3 separate regions of the Homo sapiens genome follow, and regions 1 and 2 are each linked to region 3. Evidence: promoter capture Hi-C in human tissues and cell types (Jung and others, 2019). All regions are on one chromosome and are shown on one strand. Each heading gives the region's core, a stretch centred on a gene start or on the middle of the fragment in contact. The rest is flanking DNA. Distances are from core to core; before and after follow the strand shown. Region 1 overlaps NRG3 (neuregulin 3). Region 2 overlaps NRG3 (neuregulin 3). Region 3 holds the start of NRG3 (neuregulin 3).

Region 1 (3,870 bases), core at 609-3,108, 1.0 Mb before region 3:
ATACAGACAGACAGATTTCAACTCTATATACAGACTGATCAGCTAAAAGGGACAGGTTCAACTTGCTGATCTCCGAGGCTTCTTCTAAATGTATAATTAATAATAATATATCATTTATTCACAGAAATAAGAATTTGATTGGGCAATTGTTGCAAAAAAAGACCTGTAAATACATAGTGTTTGATTTTAATAACAAAAACATGACTTTTTATGACAATATAATTTTCCAAGAAAAAAAGGCATGCCTTCTTATATAGCACATTCCGCATACATCAACATATTATGTAACTACATTTGAAACGATGTCTTCTACACATTGAGAGCATCATAAACTTATAAAAGTAAATATTTTTAGAGAAAGGGTATGCTTGTTTTCTTCCAAATAGATTATTTTGTTTTATGCTAACCACATTCCTGTGAGAGAGGTATGAATATTTTACAGGTGAATAATAGTCTTAATCACCCACACAGAGGTATCCACTGGCAGCTAATGTAATCATTGGTTTGTCAGGTATTTAAACCTGAGCTTTTCCTGGGGTCCTAGTTGTTGGTAGTAACTGTTACCCACCTTAAACAGGCAGTATTGAGAAGATAACACAAAAGAATGTGTGACACAGGCCTTTGTGGCATATGGAAGTCCTACACAAACTAGCCAAAGGCTCTGGGAAACTGTGTGGTAGACAATCTCTAAGATGCCCTCAAGGACCCCATCTCCTTATAATGTGAGATTGACCCACTAACTCCTGACAAATAAGATATGGCAAAAGTGGTGTGATATCACTTTTGAGACCTAAACAAGGAACTTACAACATTTGCCTTATTTGGTGACATTATTGCTATGGACCAGCGATTCTTCCACTGGACAGTGCCTTCCATTCCCTCCACCATCCTTTTTGAGCAGAAATGTCTATAATGTTGTTTGCTTGTCTGCCATTGCATGTTAGGTGTATGTGGGACAGATAATTGTCTCTTTAGTTAACACATCTACCGTCAAGAAAACTCTACTCATGTTGCCAAAGCTTAAGGAACTACATGTGAAGAGCCTCATCTTCACCTGGATTTGATTTAGACAATGGGATTTGAAATTCCAGCTGAGACTGGAATGAGATAATGTCGTTTGTGTCTTTCACAATATTTTGGGGTAAGACAGACATAAACCATGGTGACACCATAATCTAGCAAAGTTACAGTAGAACACATAAGCGCCTTATACACTAAGAATGCAGATCTGCATGAACGATGTATTAGGAAAGGGTGGTAAGTCTTAAGTGTCATGGCACATAGAAATCACATGCAGAAAAGACGGGCATGGACAATCACGGCGTGTTAAAAGAAGAGAACGTGCTTCTGAATGGTTGAGAAAGGCATGAGTAGATGAGATGAGGTTAGCCAGGTGGTGTGGCAAGATGCAACTAAAATTCTATAGTATTTGGCACTGTTCCAGGGGCAAAAACGAGGAAGACTCCTAAAGCACACAGCTCTGTCCTTGAGGGTTTCTGGACACACAGGCATACTCAGTAAACCAGGAAAACACAGTGTAGCACATTAGGAAATGAAGAAAGGAAAAACATAGTTTGAATGCCTGTATGTCAAGAAATGCATATGTGGGGTGTTACATCATCAATCTTTATATTAATGAACCATCAGCGGTGGACATTGATATAGATAGATACATACACACATACATAAATACATAGATATATAGCTAGGCAGATAGCCCATGTCTCACAGCATATAGGAGATGAAGTCAAAATTTGATAAATGTCCACCTGGCTTCAGTGTGTGTGTGTGTTTATTACAGTGCTTGAATCCCATAGCATGCCTTTTTCTCACAGAAATAGAAAAGCAGAATCATTGAATCACTTCTATGATACAGTACAACTCTAGAAGATAGACATCTTGATTATTTTCTGGTAGGAACAAAAGGCCCCATATTCTCATACAAGCATGTTTGTGACTGAAGTTAGCAGTCTGAATGTAATGAGAAAATGAATGGGTAGTGAACAGATAAAGACACAGCTGTTATTACTTCATTAATATAGCCTTGAACTGCATCTTTTGGTAAGTTAAATGCTACTTTCTTCCTCAAAAACTCATTAACTAAGTTAGCATGCTGCTATTTGTTTTTTGAAGCATCCATATCTGAAGTGTTAATCTATTTCACTCACAATAGGAACTTGGCTTTAAAATAGTTCATCAGTTGCTCTGACAGCAGGATCCATCCTGCCCAGAACCAATGAGCTTGCAGGTTGTGTTTGCCTTGTTAAACAACCATAGTTGCTGAGGTAATTTGGGAACAGTTTAGTATTTTGTGCATAATTCTCATCGTGTAACAAGCAGAGCTGTCCCTTGGGACACAAAGCACACTCTTATTCCAACCCCTTTTGCTAAGTTTCCTCATTAATTCTGCTTATCTTCCTGCACTGCTCATATTAACTCTAATTCAGCCTTCCTGGGAACTGGAGTGTGAGATAGAAGTGGGTCACTGGGGAGCCACTCCTTACTGTGCTCATGGCCCTACAGCAGGGGTTGCCAGATAAAATACTCAAAAATGGCTTTACAAGTAAACAACAAATACGATGTTTATAGATACACCTCATGCAATACACAAAACATATCTAGCCTAAAAAAGTATTTGTTACATCTCTGAAATTTAAATTTATGTGGGTGTCCTGCATTTTTATTGACTAAATCTGGCCAGCCTACCCATGATATACCTTCTACAGCTGAGGGCCTAGTTGAGTGTAGTTATGGCCCTGGCCCAGTGTGCTTGGAGCCCAGCACAAAGTAGGATATCATCATATTTGGAGAAAACACACCATTTTATATTATGCTCCTAGGGAAGGATTATGGGAATAGTTCAAGCTTTAGAGACATTTTGATCTGGATTATTATTCATCTTTACTATTTATCAGTTGGGCATATTACTTTTACTTTCATCAGCCTTATTTCTTCACATATATAGTGGAAAAAAATTCCCTTAAGAGGCTTTTTTAAAAGACTAACTTTCTGTGCCCTGAAGCTCTATGTCTTTCTCTTCCACGAATGGCAGTCTCACTCGTGCGCACTCTAAATATGGACAGCTTTCTTGAATACATACTAGGTAGCTCCCCAAATCTGGTATTCCCAAGGATACTAAAATGAAGACAGGAGCAGTTTTCCCCAAACCAAAGATTAGGTCACTCAGGTTATGGCGATTTCATACATCACATATTTAAGATCCCTGGTAACTTCAAAAGACAAAATGTGATAACTCCTGTGAAGTCACCTACCATGCCCATAACTTATATAATAGTGAACATTCATTCTCTTTCCTCTATGCCTCCTAACTGGTGAGTGCTTGAAAGCTTCATCAATAAACGGAGCCCATATTCAATATACTTTCAATACAGCACAAGCTTCTGCTTCAATTCTCATGCAAAAAAAAAAAAAAAAAAAAAAAGGGATGAAATCCTTCTTAGAAGAGTGAATGCAACATGAAGACAGGCGACCTCACTGGATAAGCAAATTTACTTGACTTCCCTAAGCTGTGTTCCAATCCTGTTGGAAACATTAATATTTAACACCTTTAACCCTCAGTACTACTAAGTGAACTGGAAACTTCAACTTTAAAAAGTCTTCATTAGGCCGGGCATGGTGGCTTATACCTGTAATCCCAGCACTTTGGGAGGCCGAGGAGGGCGGATCATGAGGTCAGGAGATCGAGACCATCCTGGCTAACACGGTGAAACCCCCATCTCTACTAAAAAATACGAAAAAAATTAGCCGGGTGTGGTGGCGGGCGCCTGTAGTCCCACCTACTCCAGAGGCTGAGGCAGGAGAATGGCGTGAAGCCGGGAGGTGGAGCTTGCAGTGAGCCGAGATCGCGCC
Region 2 (4,142 bases), core at 1,495-3,994, 1.1 Mb before region 3:
TGCAAATCAAAACTGCAATGAGATACAATCTCATACCAGTTAGAATGGCAATCATTAAAAAGTTAGGAAACAACAGATGCTGGAGAGGATATGGAGACACAGGAATGCTTTTACACTGTTGGTGGGAGTATAAATTAGTTCAACCATTGTGGATGACAGTGTGGTGATTCCTCAAGGATCTAGAAACAGAAATACCATTTGACCCAACCATCCCAGTACTGGGTATATAGCCAAAGGATTATAAATCACTCTACTATAAAGACACACGCACACGTATGTTTATTGCAGCACTGTTCACAATAGCAAAGACTTGGAACAAACCCAAATGCTCATCAATGATAGACTGCATAAAGAAAATGTGGCACATATACACTGTGGAATACTATGCAGCCATATGAAAGGATGAGTTCATGTCCTTTGCAGGGACATGGATGAAGCTGGAAACCATCATTCTCAGCAAACTAATACAGGAACAGAAAACCAAACAGCACATGCTCTCACTCATAAGTGGGAGTTGAACAATGAGAACACATGGACACAGGAAGGGGAACATCACACACCAGGGCCTGTCAGGGGGTGGGGGCCAGGGGAGGGATAGCATTAGGAGAAATAATGATGACAGGTTGATAGGTGCAGCAAACCACCATAGCCCGTGTATACCTATGTAACAAACCTGCATGTTCTACACATGTATCCCAGAACTTAAAGTAAAATAAAAAAATACATTCCATAAATAAAAATTATTTTGTCAGGGGATGTATAATAAAAATTTAAATAATGTCTCAAACTAATTTTTAAGTATTTTTTTGAATTGCCACAAGAATAATGTTAGTTCCTTTATTGTGCTGGGTAAATAAAGAGACTGTCAGGCTATGGAAGCCACCACCCTTCAGCACCAGCAAGGAGACAAGGCCTCTGCGGCACCTATGATTAGAGCTCTGTGCTGGGGATTCAACTTCTAAAGCCTTGCAGTCCGTGTTGGGGGTCCCTGAGCAAGGACAGATGGGCAGTCCTTTGAGCACTTCAGGTGGAAAAGCTCTGCTCAAGTAGTGATGGTGCTGAGGAACTGAGCCAGGGAGAGCCCTTCCCAGAAAACTAAACTGGAGACCAGAAGGATAACAAAGGTCAGTTAGAATTGGGGGAATGACCCAAAGATAAAGAAAATAAAGACAAAGAGACACAGTGCAGTTGAGACATGTTCAATGGATGTCCAATCCAAAGGCAGATCTACTGAGGATTATTCACATTTCAGGAGACAAGAACTGTTTTTATTCTGCTAGAATCACACTTTAATATTGCCACAGACTCTGTGAGAGAGGCCAGGCCTCAAAGTTAGAAACTTGTTAATTTTAATTACTTATTTTGCTCTTATTGCATTAATCAATGTCCCTGAATTTTGTTTTGTTTGTTGTAATCAAATGAGCTTAACACACAGAGAATGAAATGGGAAGAAATTTCTGTCAGGAAGTAATTACCCGGCATTACAAATTGTATTCAGGACAAGATGGCTCACCCAGAGAGATATAAAGGAAAATGGAATGACTTAAGGATGTGATAGATACTTCTTGGATGCTCAAGTGACTATCACTTTTTAGAAAGTTTTTATTTATTTGGTCACCAGAATATTCCCTAAGATAATTGGAGCTTGTAGTCCTCAGCTATAAAGCTAAGTGGTGGAACTTCATCACAATATAGCACAGTTGTCCCTGGATATGCTTGGGGATTGATTCCAGGATCCCCTGTAGATACCAAACTTGAAGGCTACTAAAGTCTCTTATACAACAAGGTGTGTTATTTGCCTATAGCCTACACATATCCTCCTATATACTTTCAATCATTCCTGAATTACTTATAATACCTAATACAATGCCTACACATCACTTCATTAGCGTGGATTTGATATATTTGGCATATGGCAAATTCAAGTTTCGTTTTTTGGAACTTGGTGGAGTTTTCTTTTCCAAATATTTTCTATCCATAGTTGGTTGAATCCATGGATGCAGAACCCATGGATATGGAGGACCAACTGTACTTTGGAGCCAATACTGTGCTTGAAATGAGGTGGATAAATGGCTTTTAGCTAAACCTTTAAAACAATCTCTCCCTGAATGATCTGCCTGACTGCTCAAATCCCCTAAAATGCATGGCAGCCTGCCCTGCTTGCCTTGCCATCGCTAGTTGCATTAGCCTGGGCAGGCTGCAAAAGGGGGTGTAGGGCAAGCCTCTCTCTGGGAAAGACTAAGGCAATAGGTCATCTTTCCAGTTTAAGCTGCTAGTTCTACACACATGGAGTTGCAGATATATGTATTCTCACTGCTCTGACCAAGCAAAGAAAGAGTGACTTTTCATAATGACTCACAGGCTATAAATAACTGTACCTACCTCTCTCTGTCATCATCTATGTATAAACCCTACGTAGATTGATTAAAAAATAATAACCCTTGGCAAAGGAGTCTTCCAGTTTTTCTGCTACTGGGAATTAAGAAGACAGGAGTAGCATTAAAGCATGCTTGTCCCTATTCTGCGAGGCCATGCCTCTGTGAAAAGGCCTCACAGACAACAACAATAGCAATGACAACTACAACATGAATATTTATGGAGCACTTAAAATACAAAGCTCTTTATAGGTGCAAAGTCATTTAGTCCTTTCAACAGTGCTGGGACCATTATTAACCCCAGTTGCACTTGAGAAGATTAGGGCACAGAGAAACTAAAGTATAAGTTCAAGTTCAAGAAAAAGTAAATGGTCACAGGCAGTCTGGCTCCAGAGGCCATGCTTTCAACCACCACATGTCATTGTTGCATAGCTAGAAAAGAAACACTGTCTTCCTGTACTTCTGTAACAGAAAATCAAACCAATAGTGTTGGAGAGGGGATGTGGTAGAGTAAAAAAGGCCATCCTCCTTGGAGTCAGTTTAAAGACCAATTCTAATTTGTACTAAGTAAACTAACTTTGAGGAATTCTTTGTCTTCCCCTAGTCTCAGGGCCCTCATCTGTAAAATGGGGGTGCTTATGTCTTCTGTACAGGGTTTTCGTGGCATAAAAATATGATGGATACAAAGTTTTCAGCATTGTGTCTGGCATGTGATGAGTAATCACTCCAAAAAGTCATGCTTTTCTTCTTTCTTCCTGCTCTGGTGATCTGGAAAGTATCAAGTCTCTTTTATCCCTATAATTATAGGAGACTTTTACTCTTATGTAACATGGAAAAAGCAATTACATGGATTGGCTGAACTGCTAAACAGCCAAGAATCTTCTTTTGAAAAGCTGGGGTGTCCATGATATCAAAGAACAGCTTGTACCCATCAAAATGCAGAGGATCATTGTCATGAAGCTTACTCCTACCTTCCAAGCTGCTGTGAGTTACAGTGAAGAAGCTTGAAATATGTAAAATCTTAATTACACTACCAGGTAGCTTTGAATGCTACTGGTCTAGAAGAAGGAAGGGATATTCTATGCTGTGTCAACCTACAATCTTTAAAAGCTTTTTTTTTTTTTTAATGTGAGATATTTGATTTCAGTACATAGAAGACTTCGAAAATCAGATATGGGCAAAACCAAACAGATAATATCATTGGAATGTGTCTGATTTGCTTCCTCTTCTGCCTTATGGTAGACCCACTGAATCCCAACTTCCTACCCCTTCCTCATTACCACCGCACAAACTGATGAGCCAATTCTGATCATGGCTTGGGAATGAATTATAATGGGGTTTGTAGAGAGGCACAGGGTAGTGGAGCATTTAGGGATACTTAGGCGATTGATTCATTGAACATCAAGTCCGCATAGTAATAGTTCGGTTCTGGTCTTGGGCTCTGCCTCTGAGGTCTCAGTGACAAACTCCCAATGCTCCTTTTGGGTTCTGGAAACCTAGGTCCCTGCCTTGACATTTGTTTAGTGCTTTCTGCCTTCTAGTGGAAAGAAACTGGAATCTTGCCAACAATTTTCTCTCACCATCTCTTTCTACCTTTTTTTTTTTTTTTTTTTTTTTGAGACAGTCTCGCTATGTTGCCCAGGCTGGAGTACACTGGCATGATCTCGGCTCACTGCCTCCTGGCTTCAAGCAATTCTCGTGTCTCAGCCTCCTGAGTAGCTGGGATGACAGGTGCCTGCCACCATGCCCAGCTAATTTTTGTATTTT
Region 3 (3,814 bases), core at 422-2,921:
AACTCACTCTCGGCGGTCACAGAATCTATGTCTACACCTTGGAATGGCCACAGGCAGGCTAGGAGGTCAGTTTAGCCCTTTGCCTTGGATCGCCTCCTTTCCCCAAGTCTCCCAGTGGCTTCTAATTAACCCTTTCTGGTTCCTGCCCAGGTCAGGGCTGCTGGAAGCGTCCTCAGCAACATTCTACCATTATCTCCATCAACTCGTCACCCCACACAAGGACATAACTTCCTTTTGTGGTTTATCGTCGGTCAATTTGCATGTGCTTTGCTTTCTTTCCTTCCTACCGGCGGGCGGAGAAGGGGCTCAGTGCCTTCGGGAAGGCCCTCTCTCCCTCCCTGGCCCTCTACTGGAGCGGGATCCGGCAGCTCGCCAGCAGGTCTGCAGTGAGGAGGGATCGCACTCGCGTTAACCCTTTGAAGGGAGTTGGGAGATCTGTTCTCACTTGGGACCCGCTAAAGTGGGGCCAGTGGAGCCTGACAATCTCCCTCCCGTTCCTACACGCCCCCACCCCCCCAGAACCAGAGCAGGCTGGCACCTTCTTCCCCGCTGGTGGCCAGTTTTAATCAGCTCTCACTCTGCCCCAAACCTGGGATGGGGGAGGGGGCTTGCTAGAAAACAGGCGGCGAGGGAAAAAGACAGCAGGAGGGCAGAAGGGAAACTCAGTAGTAAATCATAGTTGAGACACAGTGTTTACTTACGAAATTTGGGGCTGGTGCTAGTTTCTGGTGTGGTGGTGGTAGCGGAGGAGGAAGAAGAGGAAGAAGAGGAGGCAGCATCCTGAAAGGGAGACAGGGTCCAGGAGGGAGTAGAATCGTGAAGGTAGGAGGAGGTAGCGTATGCCGCAGTAGGCCAGGAGGGCATTGCCTGGGTACTTGGAGTTCCTGGCACCGGGGGTCGGGAGCCCAGCGTGCTGCTACTGAAGAACGGGGCCGTGGTGGACGGGACCGTCGCAGGGGCCGCAGTGTTCCGTGCTGTGGTGGAGCGCGGGCTGGCCCGGATGGGCACCCGGTGCCCGGGGAAGCGAGTGGGCGCCCGCGTGATGGTGGTCAGGCGAGTGCTAATCCGGTTGGGCGTCCTGGAGGAGGCGGCACCCCCGGCGGAGGGGGTGGCGGGGGACGTGGTGGAAGTGGTAGTGGTGGTGGTCTCCATGGCCTTGGGGAAAGAGCTGGGCTTGGAGAGGAAGAAGGGGTCCTGGCCCATCCCCTTGGAGTCCACTAGGTCGGTGGGCACGTACTCCTTGACGGAGCCCACCACGATCCATTTGAGAAGCATGAGGCTGAGCCCCAGGCCGATGAAGCCGATGAACAGAGGTACCACGCACAGCCACGTCTGCTGCCGGTTCCACACGATGCAGTCGCTACAGCGTAACTCCCGGGGGGGCTCGGCCGCCCCTTCGCCGCCGCCGTCCGGGCCCCCGCCCGCCGCTGCCGCCGCCGCAGCCGCCGCGGTGCCCTCCTCGGCCGAGGCGGCGGCTGCCGAAGCGGCACCAGGTGGCGAGGCAGCGGCCGCCCCTTCACTCATCCTAGGAGCCGGTCTTCACCTTCGCCCCCCCGAGGGCCGCGGCAGAGGCATGGGGCCGCGCGGGCCGGGCGCGGGCGCGGGCGCGGGCTCCGGCGGCGGCGGCGGGCTCGGGCGCAGGCAGCGGCCGCGGCGGCCGCATGCAAATCCGCTCCCTGCCCCCACGCCCCTCCCCCCGAGAGGCGGGCGGCGGGCGGGGAGGAGAGGAGCGGGGGAGGGGACGGGGCCGGGGAGGGGGCGGTAAGGAGCTCGGAAGAGGGGCGAGACGGGCCCCCGGCGCCTCCGGTCGGTCAGAGAGCGGCGGGGCGCGTCTGCAGCCCTCCAAGCCGCCTCCTGCGCGCCGGGTCCCCGCGCCCGCTGCTGCTGCTGCTGCCCGCCGCCTGCGTGCGCTCCAGGAGCGCCGACATCCTCGGGGCACCGCGCCCAGCCCGCTCCCTGGGGCGCCCGCTCGCGCCGCGCCTGGGCCTCGCGCCGCCTTCAGTGGCCCCGGCGGCCGGTCGCGGGGTGCCGGGTGCCCGCCACCCGCATTCCGACACAGAGGGCCTGCCTGGCCGCCGCGATCTTCGGCGGCTGCTCCGCGAGCCCGGGCGGTGAGGTGCACCTGTTCTTCAGCCGGCCCGCAGCCAACCCTCGGCCAGCACTCTTCTGGAGAGACCAATCCCAGCGCAGCGCGGAGGGCTAGCGGCCCGGCTCGCCTTGCTCCAGCCGTTCGCTGCTGCGCGCCGCTGCCGCCGCCGCCGGAGAGTCAAACTCCAGCGAACAGCGCCGCTGTCGCCGCCGCGAGCCAGGGGCTGGGGGCGCACCGGGCGCCCGCGGCGGGTGCGGTCTGACCCGCCTCCGAGGGACCCAACAAGCAGGCAGAGGATCGGAAATCACGCCCCGGCGCCCTGCCCGGTTGAGCGTGGGGGACGGAAGCGGGAGACTGCGTCGGGGGTCCCGGGGAACGCAGACCCCGGGCTGAGGGCGTCTCCAGACGGGCTCTGGCTGCCAGGCTGGTGCGTGTGTGTGTGCAGAATCGCCGCGGCGGGCTGGGATTCGGGCAGAGTAGCGCCTCCCACTAGCAGCTAATGCTGGTTTCTTAATGCACACAAGATAGATAAATGATCCAAGCAAACCCCCGTTTGCGGTGGGGTGGGGGGGCAAAAGCAGCTTCCGACCGATTGTGAGTCGTCTCCTGTACGGATCCAGTGGGGTCAGAGACTGACGCTGCTGGGCGAGGGGGCGGGGGCGGATGCGGGTGGGAGGGTGCCTGTGCCCTCCCCTGCCGGATGGCGGTGCGGCTGGATGGAAGGCCACCTTTGCCTGAGTTCCTGAGAGATGCAGGTGGAGCAGAAGACCTTTGTATAATCAGACCTGTCAGATATCTCCAAGCCATTTATGTGAACTTGCCTTAAAATATTGTCTTTACCTGTAAATGTACGCACAGGTACACACGTTACAAGGCAAGTGTTTGTGAGAGGTAAATATGAAAGGATTTGGGGTTGGACTCCCAAATTCCGTTACTGCTTTCTTCCCTTGGCTGGGGAGGCACCTGTGTACCTATTTCTCCAGCGCTGTGTGGTACCTGCCGAGGCAAGGGGCAAAGAGCCAGTGTTAGCATGACATATGCCGACAGTGCAAAACCTTGCTTGCCAACTCTCCCCAGATTTCCTGGTCTAAAGTGAAAACCGAAGAGGAGGGGTTTTTATTTACAAGCGTTAAGAATATGAGGTTGAGAAAGGCAACTTTCTAATACATTCCCCCAGCACTGTCTGATTGGCGTGGATGATGGAGCCCGCATTCTCTTGTCCTGTGATAGTCTCCACAAAGATGAAGTTTTCAAGGTATCCATTTTATTCACAGGGGGAGAGCCAAACGTTACACTGAAGAGACTGCAGAGAGCAGAGGATGCATTGAAACAGGAAGCCCCTGGGGTTTGGTGCCTACCAGAGTACTTTGCACAGACAAGGTTAATAAATTATTTTTGATGGCAGTAATGCGGCTGTCACCTCTTTCAGCTATAACATTGAGACTTTCCCCATAGGAAAGCTTTTGATTTTTAGTTTGATGGAACATGCCTTAATCTAGTAGTGCTGAATTATGGTTCCAAAAATTGTAAGCAAAAAAAAAAAAACCAGAATCCTTTGAATCCAAATTCCTTTAGCTTTCCAATGTAAAGCACTGCCATCTTAAGTAAAAACTGACCCAGTATCTACCTTCTGTAGGTGCTAGGAATCTACTTCCCAGCTAGGAATCTACTTGCCCAGCCTTTCTTGTGTAGCAAATAAAAGCTTTCCTGCAAACCTCTCTGGAA

What was found. Contacts are between HindIII fragments. The study calls those that stand out against the background at their distance.
Region 1: a fragment that was not itself captured here is called in contact with the fragment with the promoter of NRG3 in region 3 in 1 of the 25 tissues and cell types used here (dorsolateral prefrontal cortex).
Region 2: a fragment that was not itself captured here is called in contact with the fragment with the promoter of NRG3 in region 3 in 1 of the 25 tissues and cell types used here (hippocampus).

Annotation. Positions count from the first base shown.
Region 1 is chr10:82,879,531-82,883,400 of GRCh38, reverse strand. All of the region lies in intron 4 of NRG3 (neuregulin 3), which reads right to left. Among named protein-coding and RNA genes, the nearest start is that of NRG3-AS1, 650 kb to the right of the region's middle. The HindIII fragment of the contact is 3,031 bases long and covers 343-3,373 here.
Region 2 is chr10:82,923,937-82,928,078 of GRCh38, reverse strand. The region is part of intron 4 of NRG3 (neuregulin 3); the gene reads right to left. Among named protein-coding and RNA genes, the nearest start is that of NRG3-AS1, 690 kb to the right of the region's middle. The HindIII fragment of the contact is 5,311 bases long and covers 89-4,142 here.
Region 3 is chr10:81,873,051-81,876,864 of GRCh38, reverse strand. It overlaps NRG3 (neuregulin 3), which reads right to left and starts at 1,671. Exons shown (of 9, transcript NM_001010848.4): 1 at 702-1,671. The coding sequence starts at 1,524. LOC124902549 (a long non-coding RNA gene) reads left to right here and starts at 2,347. Exons shown (of 2, transcript XR_007062377.1): 1 at 2,347-2,516; 2 at 3,364-3,493. RefSeq lists an enhancer at 1-722. The HindIII fragment of the contact is 10,350 bases long and covers 1-3,814 here.